2 separate regions of the Homo sapiens genome follow, and region 1 is linked to region 2. The links are contacts of gene promoters, found by promoter capture Hi-C in human tissues and cell types (Jung and others, 2019). All regions are on one chromosome and are shown on one strand. Each heading gives the region's core, a stretch centred on a gene start or on the middle of the fragment in contact. The rest is flanking DNA. Distances are from core to core; before and after follow the strand shown. Region 1 overlaps LOC102723759 (a long non-coding RNA gene). Region 2 holds the start of MGLL (monoglyceride lipase).

Region 1 (5,724 bases), core at 1,626-4,125, 220 kb before region 2:
GGGGGGTGGAGGTTGCAGTAAACCGAGATCTCATCACTGCACTCCAGCCTGGGCAACAGAGCGAGACTCTGTCTCAAAAAAAAAAAAAAAAAAAAAAAAAGATTTAGAAGGTACTGTCAGAATTTTTAGCACTATTATATAGTTAAGTATAATTGAGCATTTCACACACATTTACTAGAACTTCAAAAGGATTAATATTGATATGAACACGCCATTGTATTCTGGACCCACCTGTTAAAAACCAGATGTACCCAAATGAGAAAACAGCTTTTTGAAAAATATGTAAATCAAAGAGGTGTATTTAAAATCATCATCTAAGAAGCTTCATTTTTTTATGTGAATGTGTTTTAATAATTAAAATGCAAATTTAAAGGTTTTTGAATATAATGGTTTTTGTTGATCTTATGACACTGGGAAACATTTAGTACACTGTATTGTCTTTATTATGAGTACACAAGAAAGAATTACATTTGAGATATAGTTCCATAAAGATGTAATTGGAATATTGTACCAAATAAGAAAATTGTCATTGGATTTTATACAAAAAATGCTAATGTAATTCTAGAGAGAGTATGGAGTTTCAGCCAAAAGTTTAGGAAAAATGTGGATGTTTTAATTTGGCACTAAATTATCAAATTTAATTTTGGATAAACCAATACAAGTCAGGGAACTCATGCTTTTCTTGATAAACTATATTTACTACCACACACCAAGTAGCAGAAATAACTACATTAAGTAATGCAAATTGAACCTTGATGGACAAGCCTGCAGTGCTAGATCTGCAAAAGCAATGTGGAAGTCGGTAAGTTCTGCATTCAAATGCTCTACCCCTGAGCTATATACCCGCTGTGGTGGAAGTCAGTAAGTTCTGTATGTTCACTGTAATGGAAACAAATGCAGTGGCTGTTTGAAAAATATATTTTAAAGAGTTTGGGCCTTAATAAATGATATTTTAATGGAGATGTCAGTATTTAGAGTTTTTTTGTTTTGTTTTGAGATGAAGTCTCGCTCTGTTGCCCAGGCTGGAGTGCAGTGGCGCGATCTCAGCTCACTGCAACCTCCATCTCCTGAGTTTAAGTGATTCTCCTGCCTCAGCCTTCCAAGTAGCTGGAATTACAGGCGTGCGCCACCACACCTGGCTAATTTTTGTATTTTTAGTAGAGATGGAGTTTTGCCATGTTGGCCAGGCTGGTCTCAAACTTCTGACCTCAAGTGATCTGCCCACTTCTGCCTCCCAAAGTGCTGGGATTATAGGCGTGAGCCACCGTGCCCAGCAGTATTTATTTTAGCTTTATAAGAAAACATATTTTAGCTATTAGAGCTGACATTATTTCAATAAACTGTAAAGCAGTTGGACATATGTAAACAAAGGGAAGTTTGAAACAAGTGGAAGTTATTATGGATAAGAAAAAATAGGTATCCTGTTTGAAAAAAAAAGTGAAGTATCAATTCCAAGAGAAAAATTATTGGCTTTTCTAATAAATCAATGTATTTGGTGACAAAAGTGAAAAATGTAATAAACTTTTAAGCCCTTTCAATTTTTTGAATCTTGAAATAAAGCCCCCTGGTTTGTGAAGCTCCGTGAATTGAGAGTGAACAGAACATAGTGAATAAGCCAGTAAGTTAAAAGATATTTCAATAAGTGATTTGTGTGACTTAGTCAATAACAGATATTGAATCAGTTCTGTATGTTCTTAGACTTTATTATAGTCTATAAAATGTTTAAATTTAATTGCTATTAATAAGAAACTGAGGATTCAACACTAAAAACAGTATCATTGATGTTAAGGAAATTCTCTGCTTAATTCATTTAATGATTATCCATTTAATGAGGAAGTTGTTGGAACAATTTGATGTTGCTTCCTATGTCAAATCATCACTCCATACAGGGGCAAAATCTAGTGACAACTGTATCAAAAGATTCATAACTTCCAAAAACCAAGAAATGATTTAGACATACTAGAAAGATCTGTCAAATTATTTTTGCTGCAAGTTACATTGTCATTTTATGATATTTATTTAGAAATAGGAGATATGTTTTTAAATTTTTGATTTACATATTGACCAGTTCAAGATGACTTCTTGTTTTGTTTGTAAAATCTAGAGAGATCACATAAAACATAAAATCTAGATTTTTTACTTCTCTTGGAAGATCAGAAGACCCGACAGCACTAGGCTAATATTCCTACATGCCAGAAATCAGTAAGTTGTGGCTGCTTTTTTAAGATTGGTCAGCAGCTCTTTGGCTCCCCACAGTTACCACTTGTCCCTTGCCTCTTGCCTGGTCTCTAAGCATTTGAATTTGTGGCCTCTGCTGTAGTTTTAAGCCTGGGTTCTTGGCAGGATGGGGGTGTCATTTATTTCATTTACCTAAATAAGGAAATCGAGAACAGGTTGCCTACTTACCCCCATGGTGAGTGTGTGTGTGTGTGTTTGTGTGTGTGTGTGAGAGAGAGGAAAGTGAATTTTATTTTAAACATGCAGAGTTTGAGGTACTGGAAATTGATCAATGAGAAGTCCAATAAGCAGACCTGGTGCTCAGAAATGAGTTAGGATTAGAAGCATGTTAAGTCGTTTTCCATGAGAGTGGATGAGATTTCTAAGGGAGAAAGCATAGAGAGACCAGATTCAAGGAGAGACCCAGTGGGAGAGGGGGTCAACCATATTTAAGGGTGGGAAGGAGGAGGAACAGCCAGGTAACAAGACAATCCGATATAATAATTAGGTTGGGGAAGACAGCGGGTTGGGGGAGCTGGTTATTCTTTTGGCCAGTTGGTGTGTTGGTTAGGATATAAATCCGGCTGTTAGCTGGGCACGGTGGCTCACGCCTGTAACCCCAGCATTTTGGGAGGCTGAAGCGGGCAGATATGAGGTCAGAGTTGGAGACCAAAAATTAGCCGGGCGTGGTGGCACGCACTTGTAATCCCAGCTACTCAGGAGGCTGAGGCAGGAGAATCGCTTGAACCTGGGAGGCAGAGGTTGCAGCGAGCCAAGATTGCGCCACTGCACTCCAGCCTGGGCAACAGCGCGAGACTCCATCTCAAAAAAAAAAAAAAAAAAAAAAAAAAAATTAGCCGTTGCTGCAGATTAAAAAAAAAAAACAAAAAAAACAAATCAGTATCATAAACCAGATGGAAGTCCAGGTAGCAGTATAGGTCTGAAGCTTGCTCTCTCTTATTTCTCCACTCCCTTTTGGGTGGTGCTGTGGCCCACAAAATCCAGTATGGCCCATCATTGTGTCTATATTTTGGCCATTTGGAAGATGAAAGAAAAGGGAGAGGTGGGACTGCCCTTCTGTTAATGCACAACCTGGAAGTTGGACACATTGCATCTATTCTATTCCTTTGGCTATAACCTAGTTGCACTTATCTGAAAAGGAGTTTGAAAAATCTAGTCTTTATCCTGTAAAGTCATGGGCTGGCTACTGCCATGGAACAAGGGGAGAATGGGTATTGGGAGACAGCTCTCAGTCTGTCTAACAGGTGGTGAAGAGAAAGTGGGACTTGAGAAGGAGAAAGGGGAGGGAATATGGTAAATTTCTGGGATTGGACAGAGATAGCTCCCTATGGCTAAAACAAAGAGTAAGGCTAGCAATAAAGCTATCATTGGAGAAGCTAGGCTTCATTACAGTTGTTAATATCTAGCAAATGCATGACGAGCTAGACAGATGAAGGAAAATGGTGCCCTTCAGAGATAGAGGCCTTCCAGATTTCTGAGATAGAAGCTCTCCAGGAGGAAAAAAAGAAAAGGAAGCCAGGCAGGCCTGACTCCCAGGGAAGAATTCAGGAGGCTTTTCCCATTCTGGAGATCAGAGAATACCCAAGAAACATCCAGGGCATGGCAGATTGTGTCAGTCAGGGTTCTACCACAGAAACAGAACCAGTAGTAGGAGATGCATACAGTCGACCCTTGGTATCCGTGGGATGTTGGTTCCAGGACCCCCCAACCCTAGCATCCCCACCCTCTGCAGATATCAAAATCTGTGGATGCTCAAGTCCCTGATATAAAATGGTGTAGTATTTGGTTATAACTTACACACATCCTCTTGTATATTTTAAATGATCTCTACATTACTTACATCTAACAATGTAAATGCTATATAAATAGCTCTTTGTATTTATGTTTTATTTTTCATTGTTTTTTAAAAAACTTTTTTTTTCTTTGAGACAGAGTCTTGCTCTGCTCAGGCTGGGGTGCAGTGGCATGATCTCAGCTCACTGCAGTCTCCACCTCCCAGGTTCAAGCAATTGTCCTGACTCAGCCTCCCAAGTAGCTGGGATTACAGGCACCCACCACCACGCCCAGCTAATTTTTGTATTTTTAGTAGAGACGAGGTTTCACCGTGTTGGCCAGGCTGGTCTTGAACTTGTGACCTCAGGTGATCCTCCTGCCTGGGCCTCCCAAAGTGCTGAGATTACAGGCGTGAGCCACCCTTCCCAGCCTAAAAAATATTTTCAAACTATGGTTGGCCGAATCTGCAGATGCAGCACAGATATGGAGGGCCGGCGGTATATATATCAGAGAGATATATATGGTAGAGAAATAGAAAGAGAGAGAAAAATAGGTGTATTTCAAGGAATTGACATAATATGATTGTGAAGTCTGGTTGGGTGTATCTGAAATTTCATGCAGTAGGGCCGACAGTCCGGGAAATTGGGCAGGAGCTGATGAGGTGCCCACAGGAAGAATTTCTTCTCCTTCAGGGAAACCTCCATTTTCTAAGGCCTTTCAGCTGATTGGATGTGGTCCACCCATGTTATTGAAGATAATATTTTTTAAGGTAATTGACATCTACAAAAATATCTTCAAGGCAACACCTAAGTTAGTGTTTGACTGAATAACTGGTTACTCTAGCCTAGCCAATTCGATACAAAACTAACCATTACTTATTTGCTTAACCCAAATACAAAAACCTGTGGCACAGGGTGTTAATGTGAGAATTACACCAGATACTCATCCAGGTATTAGGTTTTGGATCTGAGAGAGACTGAACAATTTGTATTTTTTCCTTTTCTGTGCTGGAAACTGATCTGTTTTTTTTCAGTGCTGTTTTCATTACCTCTCTGATCTTCTTAATGAGGTTAAAAGTACAGAAAAGTTTAAAGATTAATAAGATGAACACTGTATTCCCACCACACAGGATTAACAATAGTGAACAGATCATCTGTAGACAATGCTTGGTGGTTATGTGGATTTAAGAACTGCCTGCATTAATTTTGTAACTCCTCTTTCAATTGTACATGACAAAAGAATTACTTCGAACACGCTTGAGAAAAAATATACTGGAATTTTTTGGCTCCTGTAACTGAAAAGTCAAAGGGTAGATCTAGCTTTAGGCAAAGATGGATTTAGGCAAGGCTCAAAAACTGTTGTCAGACTCAGTTTCTCCATATCTCTTTGCTTTCTTTCATATTCAGGCTTCCTCCTTGGAGGGACCTCAGAAGTCCCAGGCTTCATAGTGTCAAGTTCAACAGAAAGAGTAGTTTTCATCTTTCCACAGTTCTTAGAAAAGTCCTGAGACTGAGTTTTACTGGGTAAGTGTTCACCCCTGAACCATCTCTGTGACTGTATAAAATAGAATGAACTTGCCAGGCCTGAGACTAGCCTTACCCAAATCACACGGATTGAGAATGTGGGAGGGGTGGCTCTATCATGGAAAATTGATGTGCTGTTTCCATAAGAAGGAGGAATACATGCTGGTGATAGTGACAGGAGGCAGCCAAA
Region 2 (5,189 bases), core at 1,013-3,512:
GATAAAAGCGTCCATCAGACCCCCGAGCACCCTTCCTTTCCATGAATTATAACCAACGGAAATCCGGTGCACTTAGCATGTCCAGCTTTGAGTGAAGCCCCCAAGCTTCCTGCCCCTGAGACTGCCGCCCCTAAACCTCTCTTGCATGGATTCTGTAGAGCTGCCCCGACCAGAAGTCACTTAGCCACTCCTCTGCTCCAGGCCTCGTGGCCTGCTGGAGGCCAGACAGTGGGTAAGTCACGCTCAGCAGTGCCTACAACTCAAGCCACTGCTCAAAGGCTGTTGTTTTATTTCTCAAGTTAGACCACAGGCTCTGTAGCAACTTGGGCCTCCTTGGACACACACAGTGTGACGCTGAGACACAGTCCTCAACGCTGCTATGGTGTAGAATTTTTTGCGGAGAAAGACAGGAAGGCCTCTTGAGGTCAGTGTGAGACAGGGACACTCCACTGGGGCATAGGTATATCACTCACAGGTTGAAGGTAGGTAGACTGAGGCTCAAAGAGCAAGCGGAGGAGCTAATGTTCAACCCAGGTGGTGTGGAGTCTCAGTCCAGTGGCCTTACCCTCCACGGCCACGTTGCTAGTTATACTGGACAGAGCTCAGACTGTGCCCTGGCCTGTGTAGATGCACCAGAGGTTTTATCTGGGGGTCACAGCCGCTGGGAACGGGAGAGTTGCTGGGGATTGCCAGGAAGGGACAAGGCATTTGTAGCCATGCACCATCTGCTTTTACACTACCCTAGAGTCAAGTGGACCCCCTCCAGCATTTTTTTTTCCCCGAGATGGAGTCTCACTCTGTCACCCAGGCTGAAGTGCAATGGTGTGGTATCGGCTCACTGCAACCTCTGCCTCCCGGGTTCAAGCGATTCTCCTGAGTAGCTGGGACTACAGGCGCATGCCACCACGACCGGTTAATTGCCCCTCCAGCATTGTATGTGTCTGACTGCAATGAAGTGTGAGTGTGTCTGTGTGCGACTGTGTGTGTATGATGTGAGTGTGTCTGTGTCTATGTGGGGGCCAGGTGTATAGTCTGCATATGTCTGTGCACCTCTGTGTCTCTGTGGGTTGTCTGTGCCTATGTCTCGGCTTGTGTGTGTGCATGCATGTGTGGTCTGTGTGTGTCTGTATGCATGTGGTATCTCTGGGATGTGTGTCTGTATGTCCCTGCGTGCAGTGTAGTGACTTTGGGAGTGCACATGTGTACACGTGTGGTGAGTGTGCGGCCCTGCGCGAGTTGTCTGTGTACGTGTGGTGCCTGTGGGTCTGTGTGCGCGCGTGTGCCCGTGGGTGTGGTGTGTCCTCCCGCGCTGAGGCTCCCATGAACCCAGCTCAGTTCAGGCCTCCCTGACAGTCCTCGGGCGGCCACCCCGGGGCGCGGCTGTCCACGAGGCGCGGAGGAGAGGAGTGCGTGGCTGGGTCGGCGGGCGGCGCCCCCGCTCCTCCCCGCGGGCCGGGCACACGTGGGCCCCGGGCGCCGCCTCCCCGCGCCGCCCGCCGCCCGCCGGGTCCCGCGCGTCCCCACCCACCTCGGGCCGCCCCCGCCGCCGAGCCGGCCCAGGGATAAAGTGGCGGCGCAGACGCCGCACCCTGTCGCCGCGAAGCCGGTCGCGCGCAGCTCGTCCCGGCCCTGGCCCGCCGCAAACGAGGATCCGCTGCGCTCGGGGAACGCGACAGCGGCGCTCGTGGCCCCGGTAACTGCCTCCCGGCCCCTGCCCCAGCCCGCCAGTGCCGCCGTCAGGGGTGGGGAGCAGCACTGGGGTCCCGGACACGCCCGGCGTGGGCTCCCGCTACCCATGTGTGCGTGTGTGTGTGTGCACGGTGTGTGTGCGCGCGTGTCCGAGTGTGCGCGCGTGTGCGCGCGCGCGCGCCCTCCCTGCTCCTTCGCACCAGCCCCCAAACCAACTTGTCCCCATCAACTCCATCTTTCTAGTCCCCACCTTCCCCGGTGCAGACACCCGGCGAAGCCCACCCGGTTTTCCCAGCGGCATTTCCGATGACAGCTTCGGGGCTACGTGTCCTGTGCTGTCGGAGACGCACAGGAAGCAAAGTTTGTGAGAAGCCTTGGGGGCGACTTTGCCTTGGGCACCCGCATTTGTGCGTCTGCGAGGTGCCTCGGTGTGCGCGGAGCTAGTTTCCCAGTTTCCCGGGCCCCTCCCTTCTCCGAGCCCCTCTAGCGATTTGTTTAGGAAAAGTGATGACATGAACTAGTAGTGGAGAATCGCAGCGCCGCTCCCCGCCCTGGGGAGGGAGGGGAGCCCCGGAGAGCCTGCCGGTGGGAGCTGGAAGCAGGCTCCCGGCTGAGCGCCCCAGCCCGAAAGGCAGGGTCTGGGTGCGGGAAGAGGGCTCGGAGCTGCCTTCCTGCTGCCTTGGGGCCGCCCAGATGAGGGAACAGCCCGATTTGCCTGGTTCTGATTCTCCAGGCTGTCGTGGTTGTGGAATGCAAACGCCAGCACATAATGGAAACAGGTTTGTCATGTATCCTTGGAATTTCAGATGGGAGGAATAATCTGAGTATCATCCACCTCATTATTGTGCCCACTTGAAACTGTTCCTTGGAGATTTTAAGATAGATGGGTCTTCTTGCAGCTGGGTCTTTGTACCCATAGAGCTGACTATAATTTCCACTTGATTACAGCTAAAATAGTCTTTAAGATGAAGTTTCCTGAAATGATTTAAAATAAACACAGATGGGAAGGGGGAAAAACTGTAATGAGGCACTTAAAAAATAAAGTGAGCATTTTCTTAAGAACAAATGGGATTTTTCAGTCTTGGAGAGGTTTGCAAGAAATGTATGTATGTTTTAAACCTTTGAAACAGAGGGGTTTTTTAAACTGCTTTTAAAAAAATGTTACTGACTCTGAACTAGACTTTTCTCTCCTATCCATACATGTTCTTGAGATATTTCTGACTTTGGAATATGTCACTTTTCCTTCTAGGACCTGAAGACCCTTCCAGCATGCCAGAGGAAAGTTCCCCCAGGCGGACCCCGCAGAGCATTCCCTACCAGGACCTCCCTCACCTGGTCAATGCAGACGGACAGTACCTCTTCTGCAGGTACTGGAAACCCACAGGCACACCCAAGTAAGTCTTCCCCAGAAAGTCACCCCAGGTGACAGGGGAGCATGGCCCCTGCTTCTCCTCTGGTCGTTATCATGTGCCATCTGGGGCGGGGCCGCTTTCTCTATGACCTACTTCCCCTGCCGTTTTAATGTTAGGCTGAGCAATGTTAACAAAGCTAAAATGTATACTTTATAATTTTTAAATTTAAGAAGCAGGAATTCTTTTTTCATTATAACAACTCAGATATGGATCCTACCGTATGGCAATTTTCAAAAATTCCACATGACTTTATTTTTTGTACTGGAGTTGATTTCCGGTTGTACAGGCATTCATTTAAAATCAAACCCGACAATTAAGGAAAATCCCCTAGATGGATGAGAAACCCGAAGTAATACATATATCTTCACCTTTGCTCACTTTTCCTGCTTGTTTCTGAGCTTCTGAAGATGGCATACATGTGTCACCAGGAAGAAAGGGGCCTGGGTATTTCCTTCTGATTCCTTGCCAGCTCAATTACTTTGTACATTTTCCATCAAGGATTTGTCTTGCTATTAGAAGCAAACATTGGGACTATACACAAGACAGCTGGTCTCCTGCTGCTGCTCCCTCCTCTTGGATGAAGCAGGAAAACCCTGCTTGTTTGTGTTATTTGGAAAAAGAATTTATTTGTGGTAACCAATTGGCCTGGTGACAAGAACATTTCCTGTTCCAGGGACATTTTACCTGTTTTGTAGGCCTCTTGTCTCCTAGGGATCATTGTGTGGTTGGATTATGTCTCTCTTTGTGCTCCAGTAATCACCCAACCCTCACACAGGTGTAAAATTTCTTCTCTGTCTTCATCAAGGTATCTATGATCCAGGGAGCTGCACGTTAAAAACACAGAGATATGGACTTTTAAAACCCGGCATAGAGTCATAGCTTCAGGGCAGCTACACAGACTGGCTATGGTTTCTCTCTAGTGTTTTCAAGTGGGTAACGTGCTGAGAAGAGTTCCTACCAGTTCTGGTAATACATTTCTTAAAGAATGTGTCTGTACGTGCATACGCATTAGAGGAAGTGGGGGGGTTGTTGAGCATTATGATGCTAATTAATCATTAATTCTCCACTCTGACTTAACTGGCTGTAGAATTGCTCAATCTTGGATTAATTTCTAACAGATTAGTGGTTTGTGGTAATTTGATCAATATACAGAAAGAAGACAAATAATTGAAAATAGAAGTTTTTAATGTCTGAGTCTCAGACTTGGGGGGCTTTGTTGGTTAAGTAGTGAGGTTGTCCTAGTTCGAAGTCAACAAAAATAAAGAGGTTCTGCAGTCCTGGCACAGGGGGAGGGTGGTGGGTGAGTGGGTTAGAAACGGTCAAGTTGGCTGCCCTGCCCTCCCTTCGCCTGCGGGTGGTTTTCACAATCTCTGTGCTGAAGTTGCATTGCAGGGAGCCCTCTCTGCTCCGTTGCTTTTGCTCTAGTTAGAGATGATAACTCAACTTCTTAATTTAAACTGAGCTGCCTCTTGGATGTCAGCGTCCGCCTTGTGGTGGGTGCTGATGGGCTTAAGAACAGAGGTGGATGGTTGAGGCAGTTCGGCCCCAGAATTTGGAAGAAACCTATGGGTCTAGAAAAGGTTAAGGGAAAAAAATATTGAGGGCAGGAGCACTGAAATAGAAAGAGCAACAGAACCATGAGCATGTATGAACACTTTCCATAGTGTTATCCTCAGTTTACCAAAGAGGAAGGGGCTGGCCAAGGTCCTACCTACCTGTCCTGCCCTGCCTCCAGCCCCTGGAGATGATGCAGAGGTCCTGGAGGCCCCTTGCCATGACTCATGTTAACCCTGTGCTTGCTGGATCTTGGGGCAGTCTTGGGGGTCCTAGGGTGGGGGCTCAGGGCAGAGGTTTGTGCCAGCCAGCATGAAACACCTCTGTATCTTCATAACCGAGACCAGCTGCTCAGCCTGCCTGCCCTCTTGCATGATCTGGGAGACCCCCGCAGCATCATTATAATAAGTATTATTATTATTGCCTGCACAGAATCATTCACTCTGCTTTTAGGAAGAGGGAGGGGACCTCAAGTCACCAGGGCTTCAATCTTTCCCCCCAGGCTTTTTACCCCTCTTCAGCAAAACTAGGGCC

Evidence for each region. Contacts are between HindIII fragments. The study calls those that stand out against the background at their distance.
Region 1: a fragment that was not itself captured here is called in contact with the fragment with the promoter of MGLL in region 2 in 1 of the 25 tissues and cell types used here (spleen).

Annotation. Positions count from the first base shown.
Region 1 is chr3:128,043,897-128,049,620 of GRCh38, reverse strand. LOC102723759 (a long non-coding RNA gene) reads left to right here. Exons shown (of 4, transcript XR_007096073.1): 2 at 5,418-5,534. Among named protein-coding and RNA genes, the nearest start is that of SEC61A1, 5.7 kb to the left of the region's middle. The HindIII fragment of the contact is 5,623 bases long and covers 64-5,686 here.
Region 2 is chr3:127,819,588-127,824,776 of GRCh38, reverse strand. It overlaps MGLL (monoglyceride lipase), which reads left to right and starts at 2,262. Exons shown (of 8, transcript NM_007283.7): 1 at 2,262-2,468; 2 at 2,939-3,083. The coding sequence starts at 2,459. RefSeq lists a silencer at 1,301-1,820. The HindIII fragment of the contact is 31,525 bases long and covers 1-5,189 here.